Regions from separate parts of the Homo sapiens genome. Here regions 1, 2, 3, 5, 6 and 7 are each linked to region 4. Evidence: promoter capture Hi-C in 16 types of primary human blood cells and fetal thymus (Javierre and others, 2016). All regions are on one chromosome and are shown on one strand. Each heading gives the region's core, a stretch centred on a gene start or on the middle of the fragment in contact. The rest is flanking DNA. Distances are from core to core; before and after follow the strand shown.

Region 1 (3,691 bases), core at 757-3,256, 220 kb after region 4:
TAAAAAATTACCAGAAACTTAGTGGCTTAAAACAACACAGTTTGTTGGGTCAGCAGGGCTGAATTCCTTCTGGAGACTCCAGAGAAGAATGTTTCCTTGCCTATTCCAGCTTCAAGAGGCTACCTGCAGCTGGGTGCAGTGGCTCACTCCTGTAATCCCAGCACTTTGGGAGGCCGAGGTGGGAGGATTGCTTAAGCCCAGGAGTTCAAGACCAGCCTGGGCAGCATAGTGAGACCTCATCCTTACAAATAAAAAAAATTAGTTGAGTGTGGTGGGGTGCACCAGGTGCCAGCTACTTAAGAGGCTGAGACAGGAGGATCCCTTGAGTCCAGGAGGTAGAGGCTGCAGTGAGCTGAGATTGCACCATTGAACTTCAGTCTGGGTGACAAGTGAGACCCTGTCTAAAAAAAAAAAAAAAAAGCTGGGCACGGTGCCTCACACCTATAATCCCAGCACTTTGGGAGGCCGAGGAGGGCTATAATCCCAGCACTTTGGGAGGCCAAGGCGGGTGGGTCACCTGAGGTTGGGAGTTCAAGACCAGCCTGACCAACATGGAGAAACCCCGTCTCTACTATAAATACAAAATTAGCTGGGCGTGGTGGCACACACCTGTAGTCCCAGGCAGGAGAATTGCTTGAACCTGGGAGGCAGAGGTTGCGGTGAGCCAAGATCATGCCATTGCACTCCAACCTGGGCAACAAGAGCGAAACTCCTCAAAAAAAAAAAAAAAAGTAATTAATGAATTAATTAATTAAAAAAAGGAGGCTGTCTGCACTCCTTGGCTTGTGCTCTTTCCTTTAGCATCAAAGACAGTGGTGTATTTTCAAGTCTCTCTCTTTCTTTTCTCTTCTTTCCCTCTGTCTCTGTTCCTCTCTCCCTCTCTCACTCTGCACCTGAACCCCCCAAGTTCTGCTTTATTTATTACATCTTCTTCTGAGACTCTGGCCCTCCTATCTCCCTCTTATAAGGACCTTTGTGATTACGTTGATCCCACTCAGCAAATCTAGGAGAATCTCCCCATCTCTCACTCACTTAACACCTCTGCAAAGTCTCTTTTGCCCTGTAAAGTAACATATTCACAGGTCCCAGGGATTAGGATGTGGATATCTTTGGAAGACCATAATTCTACCTATCACATTGTAATTAGGAGCATTCCTTTGGTACTGTAATTTATGAACACCCAAAACTAATTGAGAAGGAAGGGCTATATCATACTATACATTTTCAGGTGATGGTAGGAACCTCTTATAGCAGAAATTTCTAGGAAATGCAGTGGGGTGGAAAAGCACTCTGTTTTAGCCATTCATCAGAGGTACTCACCCTTTTGGAGTTGAGATCGACCTTGGGTCTGGATAGAGTTGGGTGCTGGAGAAAGCAGGAGAAGAGAGAGGAGGAGAAACTGGGGCAGAGATATCTGCTTGGGCTAGTTACAAAGTGTGGTTGTACTAAGACTTCCAAACAGAAAATTTGGTTCTGGGGGAGAAAAAAGGATGTTAGGCATTAGTACTACATTAAACCCAGTAATTCTCTTATTCGTTTGGGGCTGATTCTGCAGAGAGACTTCCTGCTTCATTGACACTTGGCTTTGCCAAATTCGCTTTTCTTAAGCTTCTTCCCTAGGCTGCTTTGCTTAGATTGAATATATTATTGAGTTTCAAGGAGGATCCATTATTATCAAAGTATGTATGTTTACCAATACTTCTCACTTTCTCTATCTTGGCTCTATGTTAACAAACAAAGGATTATCTTTCCCCTTTACCCGTCTGAAGAGAAAGGAATAGTAATTAATTTTCTTCAAACTATGCAAACAGATTCAAAGGCTAGGGTCATTTTTATCCTCTCTACTACCTGAGAAACATTAAAAAGTCTTTTATGCCCAGTGTGGCGCCTTGTATTTTCCAGAGATGGCCACAATAATATCTGCCTTTCCCCTTTTCTTATAATTCAACTGACACTCCTCTCATTGAGGTGTGACCTATGTTCCCTCCCCTTGAATCTGGGTGGGTTTGTGATTGTGGTGGAAATGATATCACGTGACTTCCAAGGCTAGATGATAAGAGTATAGCTTCCCCCAGGTTCTCATGGGATACTCACTGTTAGAACATGGCCGCCTTGCTGTGAGGAAGCCCAAGCAGCACTCTGGAGGCCATGTGTTGGTGTCCCAGCCAACAGCTCAGCTGAGTTCTCAGCCATGCCCTGCCAAACATGCGAGTGAGCAAACATTCAGATTATTTTAGCCAGAACCTGCAAAGTCACTCCTTGCTGATTGAGTCTTTCCAATGAGGCCCCAGGCATTGTGGAGTCCAGACGAGTTGTCCTGGATTTGCTCTTTCTGAATTCCTGACCTGACCCATAAGATACATAGTCATGATAAAATGGTTGCTGTTTTATACTATTAAGCTTGGAGTCATTTGTGCTGCAGGGATAGTAATGAGAATACTCAGGTACGTACAAATGTTGAAAGATAGTGGGCATTCTTTTTTTTTATTTTTATTTTTGGAGATGGAATCTTGCTCTGTCGCCAGGCTGGAGTGTGGAGTGCAGTGGCATGATCTCGGCTCACTGCAACCTCTGCCTCCCGGGTTCAAGCGATGCTCCTGCCTCAGCCTCCCAAGTAGCTGGGACTACAGGCACACACCACCATGCCTAGCTAATTTTTGTATTTTTAGTAGAGACGGGGTTTCACCATGTTAGCCAGGATGGTCTCGATCTCTTGACCTCGTGATCTGCCCACCTTGGCCTCCCAAAGTGCTGAGATTACAGGCGTGAGCCATTGTACCCGGCTGATAGTGGGTATTCTTATCTGCAAACACAATAACCATAGCAAGATGTCTGCAACTTACCACATTTTTCCCCCACCTTGTTTCTTTTCTTTCCTTTAAAAAAATCAGCTGGGCACGGTGGCTCATGCCTGTAATCCCAGCACTTTGGAAGGCCAAGGTGAGTGGACCTCACCTGAGGTCAGGAGTTCAAGACCAGCCTGGCCAACATGGTGAAACTCTGTCTCTACTAAAAATACAAAAATTAGCCGGGTGTGGTGGCAGGCGCCTGTAATCCCAGCTACTCGGCAGGCTGAGGCAGGAGAATAGCTTGAACCTGGGAGGTGGAGGTTGTAGCAAGCCAAGATCCTGCCATTGCACTCCAGCCTGGGCAACAAGAGCAAAACTCTGTCTAAAAAAAAGGAAAAAATCTTTATGTTTTTTAGAGACAGGATCTCAAATTGCCCAGGCTGGCTAAGAACTCCTAGTCTTAAACGATCCTCCCCATTCAGCCTCCCAAGTAGCTGGGACTATAGGTGCATACCACCATGCCCAGCTTCCAACTTGTTTCTAATCTTTATTTTATTAATTTTTTTTTAATTGAGACAAAGTCTCACTCTGTCACCCAGACAGTGGTATGCAGTGGCATGATCTTGGCTCACTCCAGCCTTGACCTCCTGGGCTCAAGTGATCCTCTCACTTCAGCCTCCGAGTAGCTGGGACTACAGGTACACACGATCATGCCCAGCTAATTTTTGTGTTTTTTGTAGAGACAGGCTTTCACCATGTTGCCTAGGCTGGTCTTGAACTCCTGGACTTAAGCAGTCTCCTGCCTTGGCCTCCCAAAGTGCTGGGATTACAGGCATGAGCCATCCCACCCAGCCCAAGCTTGTTTGTTAAAATTAAAAAAAAAAAAAAGTCTCAACCCCATT
Region 2 (3,627 bases), core at 277-2,776, 130 kb before region 4:
TCTCACAAATTAATAATTAAAATTATGCTTCTATAGGAGTGGGTTAAAAGTTGCACAGATGAGCTGATTCATGTAGAATCATTGTCTGTGGACACTCCACAGACCTCAGACAGAGGGACCCCAGAGCTCTCCAACTGCACCAACTTTAGAAGTTTATGTGTTGGGTGATCCTTTTCCTGCTTCTTCCAGTGATTGTTGTATCTTGTAGAAAAAGAGAGAGAATGAATGGATGAGAATGGATTGTCTTTGTAGAGCTGCAGACGGACCTTGAGTGTATTGTTCTTATGGGGGATCTGGAGCTAACAGGGTGATCACAGAGCAGCCGGTGCATGTGAAGAGAGGTTGATGTCTGTTTCTGTTCAGCTGGCCGCCCGGATCCTGGAGGCGCACCAGAACGTGGCCCAGATGCCCCTGGTCGAAGCCAAGCTGCGGTTCATCCAGGCGTGGCAGTCACTGCCTGAGTTTGGCCTCACCTACTACCTTGTCAGGTGATTACAATGTTCACTTGTTTCTCACACTTTCCATTCAATTTTAAGTGGCTTTTGGGGAGCCCCAGTTTTCTCATTTAGCATAGAATATAGAATGCTTTTTATTTGAGAATATTGCCCTTTTATAAATAGTCCTGACACTTTGGGCTGCTCATAAACATTTTCCATACCTTCTGTTCTAAGTTCCAATACCCCTGAAACTCAGCTAAATGTGGGAAAGGAAATTTTAAAAGGAGGGTTTTTTTTAGGATAACTACATTTCCAAAACCAGAGGGTAAACATCACATATTGATTTTATGAAATCTGTAACTTCTTTTCGGTTTTTTTTTTTTTGTTTTTTTTTTTTAAGAGATCGGGTGTGGGGAGGGTGGCCGGGGGGGGGGGTGTCTCATTTTGCCGCCCAGGCTGGTCTCGAACTCCTGATCTCAAGCAATCCTCCCACCTCAGCCTCCCAAAGTGCTGGGTTTACAGGCATGAGCCACCACACCTGGCTACGACTTTCTTTCATGTCAGCTTCCTCCTTTTTGTGTCTCATAGTGTCTCGTGGTGTGGCTTTGCAGAATTGTTAGGTTTTTAGAGAGGTCCCCGCAAGCTCTGTCTTATTTCTACCCAGGTTTATCAGGTAGCAACCCTGTTCTCACTGGTCTCTGAAGATTTCTGGGTCTGAAGGATGCATAGGAGGCCCATCTATTGCCCCCAGAAAGACAGCTTAAGTGACTTGTCCAAGTTCACCCCCAGTCCAGGGCACACTTGGCATAAAGCCCTGCATCCTCATTTGTTATCCCCGCCTAGCACTATGGCTCTGCCCCACTGTATACAATGGATGGTTTCCCAAAACATATCCACAAGCATGCTTGTAAATCAAATTACATTCTTCAGTTCAGAAAAGGAGACTGATGCTTAAGCAAAATCTACCCCCAATCCTACAGTACAGCAAGTACTGTCACTTTCTCATCTTATAATTTCGGGGTGGGATAATTGGTTTGTATTTTTAATCATTGGCAGTTTTTGTTTTCTTGGCCCTTTCCAAAGACTCCATTCCTCCATTACTTCTAACAGGGGAGTCTATTCAGACTTTCCAGCTGGGCGCGGTGGCTCACGCCTGTAATCCTAGCACTTTGGGAGGCCAAAGTGGACGGATTGCCTGAGCTCAAGAGTTCAAGACCACTCTGGGCAACGTAGCAAAACCCCATCTCTACTAAAAATACAAAAAAAAATTAGCTGGGCGTGGTGGTGTGCAGCTGTAGTCCCAGCTACTCAGGAGGCTGAGGCACTAGAATTACTTGAACCTGGGAGGTGGAGGTTGCAGTGAGCTGAGATCGCGCCACTGCCCTCCAGCCTAGGCGACACAGTGAGACTGTCTCTAAAACAAAAACAAAACAACAGAAAAAACAGACTTTCCTATTCACTGAAATATCTCATTGAATATCAGTCCCCAACGTTTGTCCCAAACAAGCAACTCCTTCTGCTTTACTTACCCCAACAAAGGAGTGAGGAAGCGCGGAGTCGTACTGGATACCCACTATGTGCGCGCATATGTGTCCATGTGCGGACACACACACACTCACCTGTAACCCTGAAGTCAACCCCGCATAGTGAAAACCACATAAATACTTGAACTGACCAGGCCCAGCTTTCAGTCTCACCTCTGCCTCTGCTAGCTCTGTGACCCGGGCATTTTTGCTGCGCTCCCCAAGCGCAGCTTCTCCATGTGTCCAGTGGGCTCTCCGAACCTACTGTGTTGAGAGAATCCAGTGCAGCCTGCAAGCAAAGTGCCTGATACGTGGTGAAGCGTGGTGTGGGCCTGAACAACTTTCCGGTGACAACTCCTCCTTTACCAGCTACTTCCCCCTGCACCTCCCTCTATCTCTAACACCTGTTTATGGAGGTGAGGCTTTGAGGCAGTGGGCCCAGGTGTAGCGAAGATCTGCTTTTTCCAAGGTCAGTCAGAGTCAAAGCCTGGAGCAGCCATGCTGTGTGTAGGATGTCTGGCGGAATCGGGATCTGCCCACACCCGAGAGACCTAGGTCCTTGCTTCACCGCTCCCTGGATGATGGAGAGCAGCCCAGGGAACTCCCATAGGTTAGAGAGAAGCGGGTGGAGTAAGAAGTGGGTTAATTTGTGATATTAAGCATTAAGGTGGTGAAATGAAGGAATAATGTGGAAAACATTCCAGAACAGGGGAGTAAATTTTAACCAAGGGTGACATGCAGAAGATAAGAATGATGTGAAAAGTGACATATTCAGCTAGGAATTCTTTTAAAATTATGCTTTTCTGTCTCCTGCAGCATCATTTTTCACATCAGTTTCCCCTTCTTGCAACCCCCTCCAGCTGCTCTCCCCAAGCTCTGCCCTAATTTGCAGTAAAACTTCTTGAATGTATTGTACGTACCTACTACCTCCAATTCCTTGCTTCCATTCTCTCTTGAAACCACTCCAGTTAGGTTTTCTCTCCCTCCCTACCCCACTGCCCCTGCTACTTTCTGTCATCAAGGTCACCTCTTGGCCACCCATGACCTTCACATTGCTGAGTCCATTGGTCGCCTCTCAGTCCTTGCACCAGCTACCCTCTCCGCAGCATTTGACACAATGAGTCACCCCTTACCCTTTGCCAACTTGCATCACTTGCCTTCCAACACAGCTGACTTTCCTGGCTTTTCTCCTCCCTCACTGACCAGTTCTTTTGGTCTCCTTGGCTGGTTCTTTCTCATCTTTCCAATCTCTTATAATACCAGAGTGCACAGTCCTCAGTTTTTTGGTTTTTTTTTTTTTTAATTAGAGGCAGGATCTCACTCTGTCACAGTGGCACAATCATGGCTCACTATAACCTCAAACTCCTGGGCTCATGTGATCCTCTCACCCCAGCCTCCCAAGTAGCTGCGACTTGTGAGCCACCACACCTAGCTAACTTTCTTTTAGGAGATGGGATCTCACTGTGTTACCCAGGCTGCTCTCAATCTCTTGGCTTCAAGTAATCCCCTTGCCTCGGCCTCCCAGAGTGCTGGGATTTCAGATGTGAATCACTGCACCCAGCCAGGCCTCAGTTCTTAAAGCATTCCTCTTCTCAATCTCTACTCACCTTCTTGGGTTCAGCCATTCTTTTGACTTCATTTATATGCCAATTACTCTGAAATATATA
Region 3 (3,801 bases), core at 1,223-3,722, 160 kb after region 4:
CCAAAATGCTGGGATTACAGGGATTAGCCACCATGCCCAGCCTATACAGCCTGATTTTATCACTTTGGTTTTGCGTGTGTGTGTGTGTTTTTTGTTTTGTTTTGTTTTTGTTTTTTTTGAGACAGAGTCTCACTCTATCCCTCAGGCTGAAGTACAGTGGTGTGATCTCGGCTTACTGCAACCTCTGCTTCCTGGGTTCAAGTGATTCTTGTGCCTCAGCCCCCCGAGTAGCTGGGATTACAGGTGTGTGCCACCACGCCTGGCTAATTTTTGAATTTTTAGTAGAGACAGAGTTTCACCATGTTGGCCAGGCTGGTCCCGAACTCCTGACCTCAGATGATCTGCCCACCTTGGTCTCCCAAAGTGCTGGGATTACAGGTGTGAGCCACCAAGCTCGGCCATCACTTTGTTTACATATGTAAACAAATAAGTTTACATATCTTATTTTCCCAACTAGACGATCAACTCCATGAGCACAGGAATCCTGTGTTCTCACTGATTTATATCACCCTCAATCTGTAGCACGGTACAGAGAAAACAATTTTAAAAATGGTCTCATTCATTTCACTGATTAGACGTCTAATAAACATAGTATCTAATACAGTCTCACAAACATGGCTTTGCTTAAAGACACCCCAGATTAACAGGGATCCTTCACCATAAGACTATTTGTAGAATACAACATAGGAACACCTTTCAAATACAAATCAAAGCACTTTGCAAATAAGAAGGCATCTGTTGACAAATATACATGACACTCACAATGAAGAGATTATATAAGAACAGGATGCAATAATTTGCCTAAAATTATATCCAAAGTTAGCAGAAAATATATATTTTCATAGCAAATGCTAAGAAGTAATTCTATAGATACTTTTGGTCAGTGTTAATCCGAATAACTTCTCTGTAAGGGGCCTGTCCCAGGAAAAGTCACTTTTTTGCCTCGTACTGAGCAACATAAAGAAGTGGAAGTCTTAGACTCCTGAAAGGAACTCAAGAAAGAAGTGAATCCAGAAACCAACCCCAGTAGCAGCACTAGTTGTAACAGCAGTGGTGGTAATGACAGCTAGCCTTTGCTAAGTCTACTCAGCTCCAGGTGTCTCACTCAATCCTCATGACAACCTATGAAGCAGATAGTGTTATTGTCCTCATCTTATAGATGAGGAAACTAAGAAAGAGTGAAGTGCAGTCACTTGCTCAAGGTCAGAAAGCTAGCATGTTTAGCTAGCTATAGAATCAAGGTGAAAACTCAGACCAGTCAGGCTCCAAAACAAACAAACAATCAGAAAATGTAGAACGTGATTTTTTTTTTTAAGTGAGGGGAACATCTAAAACCAGAGAGAAAGGGGCCTGGCGTGGTGGCTCAGGCCTGTAATCCCAGCACTTTGGGAGGCTGATGTGGGCAGATCACCTGAAGTCAGGAGTTCAAGACCAGCCTGGCCAACATGGTGAAACCCTGTCTCTACTGAAAATACAAAAAAATTAGCCAGGCACGGTGGCATGTGCTTATAATCCCATCTACTCAGGAGGATGAGGCAGGAGAATCACTTGAACCAGGGACGAAGGTTGAAGTGAGCCGAGATCGTGTCACTGCACTCCAGCCTGGGCAACAAAAGTGAAAGAAAAAAAATACCAGAGAGAAAGGAATACAATGATTAAATAAATAACATTGAGACAACTGGCTTCCATTTGGAAAACAATAGAGCTATCATCTTGTTTCATACTTTACCCTAAAATAAAGACTTCAAAGTTGAAAATTAAACTTTTAAAAATACTAAGAAATGGAGGTGCCTATTTATATAATCTTGGAAAGCAAGAATGGTTTTCCTAATTTTATGCTAAAGCAGAAGCATTGATTGATAAGCTTGACTATATAGGAATCTAAAATCTCTATACATCAAAAAAAACCCACAACGTGAGCCACTGTGCCTGGCCTAATGTGGAATTTTAAAAGGCAAGTTGCAGAACAGCATGTTTTTGTTACAGGTTTTTTGTTGTTAAAATCTCTACATAAACAAATGCACTAAAATACATAAATTTACATGCACATATTTATCCACACTAAAATATATTTATAGGTACATCAAAAAAGAATACATACAGACCTCCAAATAGCAAAAACAATTCCGAGGAAAAAAAAAGTTGGAGGACCCACACTTCCTGATTCAAAACATAGCTACAGTAATCAAAACAGTGTGGCACTGTCATAAAGACAGACATACGGACCAATGGAACAGGACAAAGACCCAGAAATAAACCCTTACGTATATGCTCAAATGATCTTTGACAAGGGTGCCAAGACTACTCAATAGGGAAAAGAAGGTCTCTCCAACAAATGGTGAGGGGAAAACAGCATATCCACATGCAAAAGAACAAAGTCGAGGCCAGGCGTGGTGGCTCATGCCTGTGATCTCAGCAGTTTGGGAGGCCGAGGTGGGCAGATCACTTGACATCGGGAGTTCGAGACCAGCCTGGCCAACATGATGAAACCCCGTCTCTACTAAAAATACAAAAAATCAGCCAGGCATATTGGCGCACGCCTGTAATCCCAGCTACTCGGGAGGCTGAGGCACATGAATCTCTTGAACCCAGGAGCCAGAGGCTACAGTGAGCCGGGATCATGCCACTGGACTCCAGCCTGGGCAACAGACCAAGACTCTTTTTCTTTTTTTTTTTTAAAAAAAAGAAAACGGCAGATCACCTGAGGTCAGGAGTTCGAGACCAGCCTGGCCAACATGGTGAAACTCTGTCTCTACTAAAAATTCAAAAATTAGCCAGGCGTGGTGGCACACACGTGTAATCCCAGCTATTTGGGGGACTGAGGCATGAGAATCGCTTGAACCCAGGAAGCAGAGGTTGCAGTAAGCCGAGATCATGCCACTGTACTTCAGCCTGAGGGATACAGTGAGACTCTGTCTCAAAAAAACAAAAACAAACAAACAAACAAAAAGATAAAAAGAACAAACTCAAAACCTTATCTTACACAATATACAAAAATTAATTCAAAAATGGATTAAAGACCTAAACATAAGCCCTAAAACTATAAAACTCCTAGAAGAAAGCACAGAGGAAAAGCTTCATGACATTAGACTTGGCAATGATTTCTTAGACATGACACCGAAAGTACAGGAAACAAAAGCAAAAATGGACAAACTCAAAAACTTTTGCACATCAAAGGACATAATCAACAGAGTGAAAAGGCCATCTATAAAAAGGAAGAAAATATTTGCAAATCACATATCTGATAAGAAGTTAGTATCTAGAATACATAAAGAACTCCTACAACTCAATAACAAAAAAAATCAACCCAATTTTAAAAATAGGCAAAGGATTTCAATAGATGTTTCTTCAAAGATGGTATGCAAATGGCCAATAAACATGTGGAAAATATGTTCAACGTTACCAATCATCAGAAAAGTGCAAGTCAAAACCAGAGTGAGATATCACCTCACACCCATTAGGATGGTCACTATCAAAAAAGCAGAAAATAACAAGTGTTGTTGGCAAGGATGTGGAGAAACTGAATTGTGTATTGACCTGTAAAAGTGAACTGCATTTTTTTTTGAGAGTCGAGTTTTGAGAGTTCTTTACATATTGTAGAAACTAGTTCTTTGTCAGGTATGGGATTTGCAAATATTTTCTCCCAGTCTGTGGCCTGTCTTTTCATTCTCTTCACATGGGCTTTCACAAAGCAAAGGTTTTTAATTTTTATGAGGTCCAATTTATCAATGTTTGGCTATATTTTTCAGTTCTATCATTTATATCATTTCCTTTTTTTTTTTTTTTTTTTTTTGAGACAGG
Region 4 (3,435 bases), core at 463-2,962:
TATGAGATAAACCGCCTTGTATGATAGACGTGAATTGCTTCCTTAAGTGAAAAAAATTGAACAATCATTGACCTCACCTACCAGAAGTACGTTTTCCTGTGGTTTTACTCAGATCAGGTCTGTGTTCTCTTTCTCTCCATTTTCCTGAGAAGTTCCCACCACCTCTTCCCCTTTTCCAGCTTTGAAATCTTCCTCGTCCAAATCCTCTGCCTCTATACTCTCCATTCATCTCTCCTAAAAGATAGATATTAAAAAGGTCTTCACCAAAACTGTAAGGAAAATAGTGCTCTTAAAAATGTATTAATAAAAAGGGAAAAATTAATGTATTCTAGGTTCAAGAGTAGCAAACAGGCTTGCAAAGTTGTACAGCTATGATACAAGACCCAAATATTCTGCAGTTAAGTTTCTAATCTCTATCGCTTTTTAAGGTATACCATAATAGTTTAATAACTATTAAATATGGTTTACGTATACTAGACGCTCACAGGTTAAAAATAAGGACAGGTACTGTACCTGTTTACAAGTCCCCATTACAGAAATGAAAATAGGACAGGTAATTAACTCTATGAAAACTTATTTGCAGTATTTGAGACTTCTTATTATAGGGCAGGACAGGATGAACATAATTCTGGCCTGTGAGACACTAGGGATACATCATCATAGCTTCTTACATACAGTCAATCCTGCAGTGTCACATCCATTTTTTGTGCAGTTTTTCTGTAAATCCAAAACTGTTCTTATAAAATACACGTCTACTTAAAAATGATTCATATCCTAAGTATACAAGTAAATAAAGATATACCTGTACGCTGCAGTGCAATTCATTATCAAATACTCTACCCAAATCCTTACTTAAAAGGGGTTTAGTTAATAAAACAAGATAGTAACTAGAAAGTTCACGATTTAACGGCATGACAGGGCTCCAATAATTAGGCATTACACATTATGAAACTGATGCTCAAAGAAATTAAGCAAACCGATCAAGATCAAAGTTGTTTGTCGACAGTACAGAGATAAAACTTTCAGCCTCCCAAGCTGAGGCGCTCCTTCAACAACGCTGCGTGCCATACCCTTCTCAAACGAGACAATATGCTGAGAACAGTAACAAATTCAAAAAAACGTTAAGAAGTAGGACTGGAGAAAGAGTAAAAAGAAACAGTTGGGTACCTGTGCTTCTTCAAATACTACTTTATTTACATCTCCTAAGGCTAAAGTTCTTACTTGCTTGGGACAGAGGTCCCAAAGCTCTCCTAGTTCACAACTGGGCCGGCTCCAGGATACGCGCAGATCTGTCCGGCCGGATTCTCCCTCCCTCCCTCCCGTAGAGAAGCACCACGGGGCTAAGAGTCTCCGGGATCTTAGCTCCTCAGGCGACTCCTGCCAAGTCCGCAGTTCTCTTCAGCCGCAGCTTTCCTGTCGTCCCCGCGCGGTGCTGAACCCCATCTGTCTCAACGGCTCGGGAAACTCAGTTTCCCCACCGCAGCTTCCAGAAGGTGTCTGTAGCGCACAGCGCCGCAAAAATGCCTCAAGCGAAAATCAGGTCTTCCCCTAAATTCTTTTTTGGCGCTTCAGTGATCCAACTTCCGCTCAAAGAAGCGGCAAGACGAGAGGGGCGGGGCGGAGTGCAGCCAATCAAGGAGTTTGGCCAGACGGAAGCCGAGAGGCTTCCGGAAGCGGTCTTGAGGTCTGGGCCGGAAAGCGGAAGCGGCGTGCAACACGTGGGGGCGGTGCCGGTCGGAGGGCTCCTAGTGCGCCAGGTTGTGGGAAGTGAGGCTGGCGGTGGCGACAACCGAGGAGGAGGGGCGGGACGCCGTGGAGCACGGCGACCGGCTGAGCGTCATGGAGGGCTCAGGGGAGCAGCCGGGCCCACAACCACAGCATCCCGGAGACCACCGCATCCGCGACGGCGACTTCGTGGTGCTGAAACGTGAAGATGTGTTTAAAGCAGTACAAGTCCAGCGGAGAAAGTAAGTCAGATCGCTGATTTTAGGGGTCTCCCGCCCCCACCTTGTAGATACCCCCTCCCTCCAGGTTTCTCCACAGAATTCTTCCGCCAGGGTGCCATTCTTGGCTCTCTCGGTCCCCATTCCCCGCCCTCGTTGTCTCCTCGGGTCTTTCTGTCACAGAAGGCTTTTCCACCAGGATCCCGTCTTCGAACCTCATAATCTCCCTTAACCCTCCTGTTTTTCCCGGAGCCCCCTCCATGATTTCATATCTGGCCGTCCACCTTCAGCATCCTTTTCAGTCTTTCCACAGAGTTCCTTCCCCAGAATTCCATTCTTGGCCCTAGGGTGCCAATGCCTCCCTCTCCACACCCTAATCACCTGTCCTGAAGTTCTTTCCCTAGGACCTTGGGATCTTCACTGTCTTTCCAGAGACACCCCCTCCTTTCTTCACTTTAGGATCTCATCCTTGTCTCCAGAGTCTCCTTCAGGTTCCCCCTTTTTTTCCACCATAGATCCTCCTTCTTCCCTAATCCCCCAGTCAGGATCTATCCCACAAAAAATGAAACGTCTCCTACCTAGTCTGGCTTTCTATCCTCTTCTCTACCCAAGCAGGATACACAGAATAGATGAAGGAGACAATTCACCACAGAGTGTGGAATCACTTTGAGTTTCCCTCGTTTTACTCACCAAAGGATTCAACGCTGGGAAAATTGCTAAAAAGCAATTTGCTCAAGGCCTCAGAACTCCAAATTAGGTTTGGTTTGTGCACCTGCTGGCTAGTATCGCTCTGTTTTATAGAAGTAAAGAAGTGGGATTTTGATAACTTTCTGGAAGGGCTGGTGAGGTTGTTAAGTCCTAAGAGCTTATTAATGGTGAAAATTTATTGGGATATTTGGATTAATTTATCTGAGAAATACAACCACAGTGTTTTTGTTTTTGAGACGGAGTCTTGCTTTGTCACCCAGGCTTTAGGGCAGTAGTGCAATCTCGGCTCATTGCAGCCTCTGCCTCCGAGGTTCAAGCGATTCTCCTGCCTCAGCCTCCCTAGTGGCTGGGACTCTGGCACCATCACACTCGGCTAATCTTTTTTTTTTTTTTTTGTATTTTTAGTAGAGACGGGGTTTCACCATGTTGGCCAGGCTGATCTCGAACTCCTGACCTCAGGTGATCCACCCGCCTCGGCCTCCCAAAGTGCTGGGATTACAGGTGTGAGCCACCGCACCTGGCCACAGTTTCTTTTGAGCTAGGTTATTGTATTACTTTTGACAGAGATAAGTTGAATGCAATGTCAGGAGAACAGCTTTCTGCAGACTGGGAAGTATGAGATTTGGAATTTCTGATAAGTACTTACTTCAGATGAATTCTTTTACTCCTGGTTTAAGCAAACTGTTGACTGGTATTTAAGGTGAAGCAAGCATCATAAAATAGTCAAGAAACAAGTCTCCAGAGCACTAAGCTGGTGATAACCAAGCTTTTTGCACAAGCACTA
Region 5 (3,393 bases), core at 122-2,621, 180 kb after region 4:
AGAGCCTTCCATGGGGTAGGATGAGTAAACCAATGTGAATGCTTTTTTTTTATGCTTACTTATTTATTATTATTATTATTTTTGAGTCGGAGTCTTGCTCTGTTGCCGGGGCTGGAGTGCAATGGTGCGGTCTTGGCTCACTACAACCTCCACCTCCTGGGTTCAAGTGATTCTCCTGCCTCAGGCCCCCGAGTATCTGGGATTACAGGCGCCTGCCACCACGCCCGGCTAATTTTTGTATTTTTATTAGAGACAGGGTTTTACCATGTTGGCCAGGCTGGTCTAGAACCCCTGACCTCAGGCGATGCACCCGCCTCGGCCTCCCAAAGTGCTGGGATTACAGGCATGAGCCACTGTGCCCAGCTAGAGGTAATTAAGTTTTGAGGGTGGAAGCCTCATGATGGCATTAGTGCCCTTATAAGAGACATGAGAAAGAGGCTCTCTCTCTAGGCCATATGAGGACACAGGAAGACGGTGGCTGTCTACAAATCAAGAACAGGGACAGCACCAGACACCAAATCTGCTGGCACCTTGACCTTAGACTTTCCAGCCTCTGGAGCTGTGAGAAGCCACCCAGTGTATGGTATTTGTGATAAAAGCCTGAGCTGGCTGGGCGCAGTGGCTCACGCCTGTAATCCCAGAGCAGTGGCTCATGCCTGGGATGACCACAGCGGGTGGATCACTTGAGGTCAGGAGTTCAAGACCAGCCTGGCCAACATGGTGAACCCCGTCTCTACTAAAAACACAAAAATTAGCCAGGTGTGGTTGCGCTCACCTGTAATTCCAGCTACTTGGGAGGCTGAGACAGGAGAATTGCTTGAACCTGGGAGGTGGAGGTTGCAGTGAGCCAAGATCACGCCACTGTGCTCTAGCCTGGGTGACAGAGCGAGACTCCATCTCAAAAAAAAAAAAAAAAAAAAAATCCTGAGCTGACCAGGCAGTACTGCAGTGTGCTAAGCACCCCAGCTGATGAGGAATTGGATCTCCTGAGAGTCCACTCCCTGCCACACACTATGCCTCATGCACTACCTTGTACAACCTTATAACCTCCCCAACAAGGAGGTGCTGTTATCATCTCCATTTTACAAATAAGGAGACAGGTACAGAGGGGCTAAGTGGCTCGCCCAAAGTCAAACCAGGGGAAGAAGCAGAACCAGAATTCCAACCAGGCTGTCTAATCCAGCACGACCACCACTACTACCGTGTAAAATGGTTGTCTTAGCGTTTGAGTACCCCTTCCCATGTTTAGACATGGGTTCCCCAAACAACCTTTTTGGCATAGAATATCCATATTTTTAACAAATACCCCTACATAAATATTTCAACATGCTCCTTATTTTTAGAGCTGTCAACCAATTCCAATTAATAACAGTTGCTTTTCTACAGATTAGTCAACTAACAGGCAATAAAAAGTAAAAACTGAGTCCACACTGAATTCCCTAAGGGAATAGAGCCATTGCCTTGAAGTATTTCAACATGCTAATACTTCTAAAGTTCTGTTCAAACTGGATATGGTTGCTCACTCCCATTATCCCAGCACTTTGGGAGGCCATGGTGGGAGGATCACTTGAGGCCAAGAGTTCGAGACTTGCCTGGGCAACACAGCAAGACCCTGTCTCTACAAAAAAATTAAAAAAAAAAAAGCCATGTATGGTGATGTGAGCCTGTAATCCCAGCTACTTGGGAGGCTGAGGCAGGAGGATAGCTTCAGCTCAGGAGTTCAAGGCTGCAGTGAGCTATGATGGCACCACAGTATTCCAGCCTAGGCACAGAGCAAAACCCTGTCTCTAAATAAATAAATACATACACAAACAAAGTTCTGTTCAACTGCCTCCATTCACTCATTCTAAGAAATGCTGTTGCTACCCAGGGATGATGAACAAAATCAGTTTTAGGGATGGAAAGTCATGTAGAGGCAGCAGGATGGCAGGGAAAAAAGGGAAGGTTAAAGGAACTAAGATGTTAAGTCTAGAAAGGAAAAGGATAAAGAATTATCTAATTCTTGGTCAGTGATATGGTTTGGATTTGTGTCCCTGCCGAAATGTCATGTGGAATTGTCATCCCCAGTGTTGGAAGTGGGGCCTGGTGGGAGGTGATTGGTTCATGGGGCAGTTCCTCCTAATTGGTTTACAGCACCATCCCCTTGGTGCTGAGTTCCCATGAGATCTGGTTGTTTAAAAGTGTGTAGCACCTTCCCCCTCTCTTTCTTCCTCCTGCTTCAGCCATGTGAAGTGCCAGCTTCCCCTTTGCCTTCCGCCCTGATTGATGCCTAGCAGGTGCTTCTATGCTTCCCGTACAGCCTGCAGAACTGTGAGCCAATTAAACCTCTTTTCTCTATAAATTACCCAGTCTCAGGTATCTCTTTATAGCAGTGTGAGAATGAACTAACACAGTCAGGTACTAAATTAAACAGGAGACTTACTGATCCTGATTACTCTGTGTCCTGAAAATCAGCAGAGAATCCCAAACATATTTCTCCATAGAATTCTTGAAGGCAATGACAGTTACACATCCTACCTGTAGTCATCACTGAATTCATCATCATTAAAGCCTACATTTGCTTAGTACCCACAATGAGTTCTTTCTAAAAATATATATTTGGATTTGTTTTTTGTTGTTGTTTGTTTTTTGTTTTTTGTTTTGAGACAGAGTTTTGCTCTTTCGCTCAGACTGGAGTGAAGTGGCACGATCTCAGCTCACTGCAACCTCCACCTTCCGGGTTCAAGCGATTCTCCTGCTTCAGCCTCCCGAGTAGCTGGTATTACAGGCGCCCGCCACCACACCTGGCTAATTTTTGTATTTTTAGTAGAGACAGGGTTTCACCATGTTGGCCAGGCTGGTCTTGAACTCCTGACCTTAGGTGATCCACCCGCCTCGGCCTCCCAAAGTGTTAGGATTACAGGTGTGAGCTACCACACCCGGCCATTTGGATTTCTTAATATTAACGACAACAACATTGACTGAGCACCCATCGATGGCAGAAAAACCATGCTAAGTATCTTACAGGTTTACCTTAAGCTAAACCTGACTGGGTGGAGCAAGCATTCTGATCACCATTTTGTAGACGACTCTGGAGCTCAGAGGGGTTAAGGAACACGCCCCAAGTCACATAGCCAGCAAGTGGCAGAGCTGAACTTTAAATCCAGGTCTGTGTGATAAACCCAGGGGATTAACCAAAACTAACAAGAAATAAATGAATAAATAAATAAATCCAGGTCTGCGGGCCTCCAGACTCAGATCAGGTAATTAATATGAAAGAGAGGGCTTTACCACTAAAGACGGCCACTACCTACATCAGGGAATTATCATTAGTTTAAATAATAGATGTTTCGGCAATCTAGTCAGGAAACCTTGTAGAAAGGTTGTTACTTAAATCCACAGCATACTTCATAC
Region 6 (3,847 bases), core at 1,147-3,646, 130 kb after region 4:
AGACTCCTTCTAAAAACAAAACAAAAAACAAAAAAAAAACACTGTCAAGTCCTCATTATGTATCCACCAGAACTCAGTAATTTTTTAGGCACAACACAAAGGTGTGGCTGTCTTAGCAAGTTACATGATGATTTTATTGTTGTTGTTTTTAAGAGACTGGGTCTCACGCTGTCATTCAGGCTGGAGTGCAGTTGCACCATCATGGCTCACTGCAGCCCTGGCTTCCTGGGCTCAAGCCATCCTCCTGCCTCAACCTCCCAAGTAGCTAGGACTAAAGGTGTACTCCACCATGCCTGGCTAATTTTTTTATTTTTTGTAGAAACAGGGTCTTGCTGTGTTGCCCAGGCTGGTCTCGAACTCCTGACCTCAAAGGATCCTCCTGTCTCAGCCTCCCAAAGTGCTGGGATTACAGATGTGAACCACCATGACTGGCCTACATGATGTTTTAATATGACAACAGCCAACATGACAATAGTCGGTGTTGTTCCTACAGTGCATGAAATCAGTAAGCATTCATTGAGTACTTCTTATATGTGATGAAAGTGAAGCAATTACAAAGGCAAACATTACAGTTAATAAGCAAAGTTTGGAATGAGAAATAACAGATAAGGGTAAGAGTGTGGTCACACCAGATCAATCTGGTTCAACTTTTACGTAACAAAGTTGTGAGTTGTTTTTCAGTTGTCACGGACCCTCAGGTCTCATAACCTGAGCATGCCCAGATGAACCAAGCATGCAACCATGCTTAGTTCCACTAGGGGGAACCTAAGTGCTCAGACCGAGGAGTGGGACTGAATTAAGAAGTAGACACTGGCGGGGCACGGTGGCTCACACTTGTAATCCCAGCACTTTGGGAGGCTGAGGCGGGCAGATCACTTGAGGTCAGGGGTTCAAGACCAGCCTGGCCAACATGGAGAAACCTGTTTCTACTAAAAACACAAAAATCAGCTGGGTGTGATGGCGCACACCTGTAGTCCCAGCTACTTGGGAGGCTGAGGCCCAAGAATTGCTTGAACCCAGGAGGCAGAGGTTGCAGTGAGCTGAGATCATGCCACTGCACTCCAGCCTGGACAATGGAGCAAGACTCCATCTCAACAAAACAAAACAAAACAGAAGTGGACACTGCATGGCAGGATCCAGGATCCAATCAGATTGAGCCCTGGAGTCACCCCATGGTGGATTCCAGTTAGATCATGACCCCCAACATCATCGCCTTATTGTAAGATCCAATCAATCACCTCATTCCAAGATCAATCCAGTCACCTCATTCACGCCTCATTACCATATGCTTATAAACCTCAACCCAGGCCCCCATTTGGGGAGACAAATTTGAGCATTTCCTCCTATCTCCTTGCAAGGACCAAGAGTTCCTGGATCATATGACCTACCTACCAACCAACCCAGTATGTGATTCCAACCCTCTTATTTCTTGGCAACTCTGCATTATTTAACCTATAAAATGGGTACAGGATCCCTGCCTTTACTTACTACAGAAAAATGTTACAAGACAAATCTAAGTGAACAGCCTCTGGCAATGGCAGAGTTAACTATACCAAATTTGCCCTTCTGCTATAAATGGCTATAAAACTGGACAAAATGGCCTGGTGCAGTGGCTCACGCCTGTAATCCCAGTATTTTGGGAGGCTGTGGCGGGTGGATCACTTAAGGTCAGGTGTTCTAGAGCAGCCTGGCCAACATGGTGAAACCCCATCTCTACTAAAAATACAAAACTTAGCCAGGCGTGGTGGCAGGTGTCTGTAATCCCAGCTACTTGGGAGGCTGAGGCAGGAGAATCGCTTGAACCTGGGAGGCAGAGGTTGCAGTGAGCCGAGATAGTGCTACTGCACTCCAACAGAGCAAGGCTGTCTCAAAAAAAATAAAAAAATAAAAAAAAGAAAGAAAAAGAAAAAAAGGAGAAAAAGAAAAGAAAACTGGACAAAAAACAACTGCTTTCAGATCCTGGTCACAGTTAGTATAGGACTTTGATCACTGAGAGAAGGGACGCAAGATGTGCCTACAATTGCCCCCAGTGTTCTGCTGGAGGCACTTCCTAGACCACAGCGCAGGGAAGGGGAATCCAAACAGAGCACAGCAATCTCACTGCCTCACAGCAGTTTCCTCAGCAAAGAGACAGAGATCAGTTTCAGGTGCCTGGAATTTCTGAAGCTGAGTCCTGGAGATGAGGGAGCTAAACAGATAAAGAGCTCCAGAAATCAGCATAGGGATTCTTTTGAGTATTTCACAGTGAACACTAAGTCATAATGCCAGGCACAGCCAGGGGAGCTGTGAGCTGAACAACTTCCAGAACTCACACAGGGCTGGGAGACATGCATGTTCTGACAGCCAGAGTGAGATGACTGTTGAATACCTGGGATATTCAGTACAGACCCAGAAAGGCTAAACCTTGGTAGCAAGCTAAACTAGCTACAGAGTACAGGCTATTCAAAAAATCTCCCTAGTGAGTTTAGGCTGGATGCAGTGGCTCACGCCTGTAATCCCAACACACACACACACACACACACACACACACACACACACACAGAGAGAGAGAGAGAGAGAGAGAGAGAGAGAGAGAGAGAAAATATCCCGTGAGCTTAAAAACAAGTCTTGAAAGGATCAAGTTGATAAGCAAGTAATTTAACTGCCTGCCATAACAAACTTTGATACTTTTTATAAAAAGGCAGCAAAATACAGACACTCTACAATGTAATATCACTAAGTCCAGCATCTCATAATTACTAGACATGGGAAGAAGCAGGAAAATATTACCTATAATCAGGAGAAAAATCAGTCAACAGAAACAGATCTTGAAATGATAAAGATGATGGAATTAACAAACAAGGACGTGAAAGCAGCTAATATTATAAATATCCTCAAGGTTTTATTTTCATTTTATTTATTTATTGAGATAGGGTCTCACTTTGTCACCCAGGCTGGAGTGCAGTGGCACAATCTCGGCTCACTGTAGCCTCCATCACCTGAGCTCAAGTGATCCTCTTGCCTCAGCCCCCAAGATAACTGGGGCTACAGGCAGGCACCACCACGCCCAGCTATTTATTGGTATTTTTTGTAGAGACAGGGTTGCCATGTAGCCCAGGCTGGTCTTGAACTCCTGAGCTCAAGTGAACCACCCGCCTCGGCCTCCCAAAGTGCTGAGATTACAGGTGTGAGCTACTGCGCCCAGCCTATCCTCAGGGTCTTAAAGGAAAACATAATGTATGACAAATAGGAATATCTGTGATAGTTTTTAAACTGGTCCTTTTATACTGTCAGGCATTTTAATCATAATATTAGTTCTTGAGTAGAATGCAGAATCACAGAAAAAATATGAACTGGAAACAAATCAGGAGAGCAACTTCCAGTTCTCGTCCTGCCACTATTTCGCTATGGTCCTCAGATTTTCACTTGCATTTTCCAAAGCTCAGTTTCCTCATCTGTGAAATGTAGATATTGCCCTCAACAATCTTCCTTTTTAAGACTCACACTGCCCCTTGTTTACCCACAGACAGTGAATCTCTCATGCACCCAAATTTATTCATTCAGCATTTCAGTAGAAAGCAACCTTTTATTTTTCAAATCATTGTTGGCAAACCCCGAATATACGCAGTAGAACTTTACTATTTCTGAAGGGGAATCTTCAGTGACTCTTGGTTCTCTCTGTCCTGGCAATCTTTACTTAAAATAAAAAAAATGTCATTCAAGGAAAATGTGTCTTTTTGGAACTACATTTACAATAAAATCACAAAATAATTTTTAAAAAATATAGAGTTGAAATTTTAAAATAATATTTACATTTGCAGTTAATTTTATGACCAACAATTCATGGGCTGTGTATTCTACCAGTTTA
Region 7 (3,636 bases), core at 873-3,372, 250 kb after region 4:
CACTTAGTAGCCATGGGACACTGACAACTTACTTGATTGCTTCGATATGCTAATTTGAATTCCCCTAGAAGCAGACTCTGAGGCAAGGATTCACATGTAAGTAGTTTATTTACCAGATGATCCAGAAAACATTACTAGGGGAGTAGAGAAAATGGGATCAGAAAGGGAAGGCAGACCACAGAGGAGAGGGCATATTACCAAGCAAGTCAACACCGCGGACCACGGGAGCACTCTATAATTTTGTGTTTTTGTTCGTTTGCTTGTTTGTTTAATAGAGATGGGAGCCTCACCATGTTGCCCAGGCTGGTCTCGAACTCCTGGGCTTAAGCGATCCTCCCGCCTCAGCCTTCCAAAGTGCTGGGGTTACAGGCATGAGCCACTGCTCCCAGCCTCCACTGGGGAACTCTAGAAGACTGTGTATAACACACACCTAGGAGTTTTCTCAGCAAAGGGCAGGGGAGTTGGGTCGTTATCAGCCATCGATTAACAGCTGCTTGGGGCAGAGAGGAGGACTAATTCCTTGACACTTCTCATCTGCCTCCCAGGGGCAAGTTAAGCTCTGGCAGCCACAGAAGGCCCTCAGGCAAATAGTTATAACTGTGGGCAGTTGAAAATCTGGCCAGGGAGCCCAGAAATAATAAGGGCAAGGATAACAGTGCGGTCTGCATCTGCTACACCCAGTGCATTTTCTGTCATTTCTAAACCCCCTCATAGGGCTAGCACTAGTCAATGGAAGCTGCTATCATTTCAGCCAAAATAGAGCAGAAATTTTCTTTTCTTTTTTTTTTTTTTTTTTTTTGAGACAGGGTCTGTGTCACCCAGGCTGGAGTGTAGTGGCACAATCTCAGTTCACTGCAGCCTCGACCTTCTGGGCTCAAGCAATTCTCCCACTCCAGCCTCCAGAGTAGCTGGGACACAGGTGCACTCCACTATGTCCAGCTAATTTTTATATTTTTCTGTGAGATGAGATCACACCATGTTGCCCAGGCTAGTCTTGAACCCCTGGACTCAAGCAATCTGCCCGCCTCAGCCTCCCAAAGTGTTGGGATTACAGGCGTGAGCCACTGTGCCCAGCCTAGAGCAGTGAAATTGAAAGAAGATGTGGTAAACTGAGTAATGTCCTGTTTCCCAAACAAGACCACACCCTAATCCTCAGAATCTGTGGGCATTACCTTACCAGGACAAAAGTGACTGCCGATGTGATCAAATTAAAGATTTGAGATGGGAAGATTATTCTGAATTATCCAGGTGGGTACAATGTCATCACATGGGTCCTTATAGGAGCCAAGCAGGAGGATCAGAGTCAGAAAAGGAGACGTGATGATGGAAACAGAGGTCAGAGTGATGTGGGGCTATGAACCAAGGAACACAGGTGGCCTCTAGAAGCTGCAAAAGGCAAGGAAACAGATTTTCCACTAGAGCCTCCAGTAGGAATGCAGCCCTGCTGACCCATTTGAAATATCTGACTCCAGAGCTATAAGATAAATTTGTAGTTTTTTGTTGTTTGTGTGTGTGTGTGTGTGTGTGTGTGTGTGTGTGTGAGATGGAGTCTCACTCTGTTGCCCAGGCTGGAGTACAGTGGCACGATCTCGGCTCACTGCAACCTCCGCCTCCTGGTTCAAGCAATCCTCCTGCCTCAGCCTCCCAAGAAGGTGGAACTACAGGCAGGCATCACTATGCCCAGCTAATTTTTGTATTTTTAGTAGAGACAAGGTTTCACCATGTTGGCCAGGATGGTCTTGATCTCCTGACCTTGTGATCTGCCTGCCTCAGCCTCCCAAAGTGCTGGGATTACAGGCATGAGCCACTGCACCTGGCCAAATTTGTGTTGTTTTAAGTCACTAAGCTTGTGGTAATTTGTCACAGCAGCAATAGGAAACTAATACAGAAAACTGGTCAGGAATAAGAATTGCTACCGCATAGTAATATTTCCTGTGAGCCAGCACTAAGCACTTTAAGAATTTTAGGTCAGGCACAGTCTCACATCTGTAATCCCAGCACTTTGGGAGGTTGAGGTGGGAAGAGCACTTGAGCCGAGGGGTTTGGGACCAGCCTGGGGAACATAGTGAGACCCCATTGCATTAAAAAAATACAAAAATTAGCAGGGCATGGTGGTGTGCACCTGTAATCCCAGCTACTTGGGAGGCTGAGGTGGGAGGATCCCTCGATAACAGGAGTTTGAATCTGAAATGAGTCATGATTGCACCACTATACTCCAGCCTGAGCAACAAAGCAGGACCCTCTCTTAAAAAAAAAAATTAAAAGACAAAAGCATCTTAATTGTTTTAATCCTTACACTGACTATAGGTATATTTGCTACGTGGCCTTGAACTCATCTTGCCATTTTGAATGTCCATTTATACTTCCTCTGTGCTATAGCTAAATGATAAAAAGCTTTTAATTAATTTTATTATTGCAGTTTCACTAAGCAAACAAGCAGTTCTCCTGTGGAAGAACATCTGATACCAAAAGCTTCCCTTCCTGCCAATAAAAGAGTGAAGGCTGACACAGCTGCACTTGAAGCAGGTTGAATAAAAACCGGACTCAGCCCCTTTAAGTCCGGCTGATGACAAACGGGTGCTTTTTATCTTTTGCTGTTGCTCTGGCTCAGTACAGCCATTTAATTATTCATAGGAAGGCTCTTTGGTATTTTCACTGTAGAAGTCACATCTGAGACTTAAATCTTACTTCCACCAACTCCAGTGATGAAGTTTCCAGACTAATGAAAACGTCAGTGCTGTGACATTCCCGGAACCCATTCTTTTAGCTCTGCAAGGAAAGCTAGACTTGGGCTTTCCATTGTTGGAGCATAAAGTTCCTCACTCACCAAAGCTGCCAGCAGGAAAATCCACCAGACACTTTAAGCTAGTGATTACACTGATGTAAATATAAACTTACCACGAATATAACAATGAAAGTTTTTTTATCCTTGGAAAAATCTTGGAGTGTGGAGAAAGCATCTCAATTACCTTGCAGGTCAGTGTGCAATTATATTAGGCTTTCTCCCTCTTTCTCTCCCTCTTTGTTTCCCATTTCTTTCTAAATAGCACTAGATACAAGGGGGAAAGGCAACTGGGCTATTACTTCATTTAAGAAAGAAAGGATGGTTACTTTTTTTTTTAATTGTTGTTAGGATTCTGTTTTTTTTTTTTTTTTTTTTTTTTGGTAGAGACAGGAGTCTCGTTGTGTTACCCCGGCTGATCTCAAACTCCTGACCTCAAGTGATCCTCCCACCTGGGCCTCCCAAAGTACTGGGATTACAGGTGTGTGCCACTGCACCCAGCCTTTTTTAAAAAAATAATTTTAATCACGGCTATAATCCTAGCACTTTGGGACGATGAGGCAGGTGGATCACCTGAGGTCGGGAGTTCGAGACCAGCCTGACCAACATGGAGAAACCCCATCTCTACTAAAAATACAAAATTAGCCAGGCATGATGGCACATGCCTGTAATCCCAGCTACTCAGGAGGCTGAGGCAGGAGAATCACTTAAACCTGGGAGGCGGAGGTTGTGGTGAGCCAAAATCACACCATTCCACTCCAGCCTGGGCAACCAGAGCAAAACTCCATCTCAAAAAAAATAAATAAATAAAATAAAATAGAGACAGGGTCTTGCAATGTTGCCCAGGCTGGTCT

The links. Contacts are between HindIII fragments. The CHiCAGO score rates a contact against its expected background, and 5 or more counts as called.
Region 1: a fragment that was not itself captured here is called in contact with the fragment with the promoter of TRMT6 in region 4 in 2 of 17 cell types (naive CD4 T cells and non-activated CD4 T cells); the score reaches 5.4 in naive CD4 T cells.
Region 2: a contact is called between a fragment that was not itself captured here and the fragment with the promoter of TRMT6 in region 4, in 2 of 17 cell types (megakaryocytes and fetal thymus). The highest score is 7.7, in megakaryocytes.
Region 3: a contact is called between a fragment that was not itself captured here and the fragment with the promoter of TRMT6 in region 4, in 16 of 17 cell types (naive CD4 T cells, total B cells, naive CD8 T cells and 13 more). The highest score is 15.9, in naive CD4 T cells.
Region 5: a fragment that was not itself captured here is called in contact with the fragment with the promoter of TRMT6 in region 4 in 6 of 17 cell types (total B cells, naive CD4 T cells, total CD4 T cells and 3 more); the score reaches 7.3 in total B cells.
Region 6: a fragment that was not itself captured here is called in contact with the fragment with the promoter of TRMT6 in region 4 in 13 of 17 cell types (naive CD4 T cells, total CD4 T cells, naive CD8 T cells and 10 more); the score reaches 10.0 in naive CD4 T cells.
Region 7: a contact is called between a fragment that was not itself captured here and the fragment with the promoter of TRMT6 in region 4, in 1 of 17 cell types (naive CD4 T cells). The highest score is 5.4, in naive CD4 T cells.

What each region holds. Positions count from the first base shown.
Region 1 is chr20:5,725,660-5,729,350 of GRCh38, reverse strand. No RefSeq gene overlaps it. Among named protein-coding and RNA genes, the nearest start is that of SHLD1, 23 kb to the left of the region's middle. The HindIII fragment of the contact is 792 bases long and covers 1,611-2,402 here.
Region 2 is chr20:6,080,901-6,084,527 of GRCh38, reverse strand. It overlaps FERMT1 (FERM domain containing kindlin 1), which reads left to right. Exons shown (of 15, transcript NM_017671.5): 13 at 364-488. Among named protein-coding and RNA genes, the nearest start is that of LRRN4, 29 kb to the right of the region's middle. The HindIII fragment of the contact is 8,164 bases long and covers 1-3,627 here.
Region 3 is chr20:5,791,556-5,795,356 of GRCh38, reverse strand. The region is part of intron 2 of SHLD1 (shieldin complex subunit 1); the gene reads right to left. Among named protein-coding and RNA genes, the nearest start is that of SHLD1, 43 kb to the right of the region's middle. The HindIII fragment of the contact is 1,211 bases long and covers 1,867-3,077 here.
Region 4 is chr20:5,948,810-5,952,244 of GRCh38, reverse strand. TRMT6 (tRNA methyltransferase 6 non-catalytic subunit) reads left to right here and starts at 1,712. Exons shown (of 11, transcript NM_015939.5): 1 at 1,712-1,967. The coding sequence starts at 1,840. MCM8 (minichromosome maintenance 8 homologous recombination repair factor) reads right to left here and starts at 1,593. Exons shown (of 19, transcript NM_032485.6): 1 at 1,222-1,593; 2 at 82-234. The coding sequence starts at 229. RefSeq lists an enhancer at 1,577-1,716. The HindIII fragment of the contact is 3,685 bases long and covers 1-3,419 here.
Region 5 is chr20:5,773,453-5,776,845 of GRCh38, reverse strand. The region is part of intron 2 of SHLD1 (shieldin complex subunit 1); the gene reads right to left. Among named protein-coding and RNA genes, the nearest start is that of SHLD1, 25 kb to the right of the region's middle. The HindIII fragment of the contact is 4,576 bases long and covers 1-3,393 here.
Region 6 is chr20:5,816,127-5,819,973 of GRCh38, reverse strand. The region is part of intron 2 of SHLD1 (shieldin complex subunit 1); the gene reads right to left. Among named protein-coding and RNA genes, the nearest start is that of SHLD1, 68 kb to the right of the region's middle. The HindIII fragment of the contact is 6,437 bases long and covers 1-3,847 here.
Region 7 is chr20:5,702,884-5,706,519 of GRCh38, reverse strand. It overlaps LOC105372514 (a long non-coding RNA gene), which reads left to right. Exons shown (of 3, transcript XR_937224.1): 3 at 2,420-2,888. Among named protein-coding and RNA genes, the nearest start is that of SHLD1, 46 kb to the left of the region's middle. The HindIII fragment of the contact is 548 bases long and covers 1,849-2,396 here.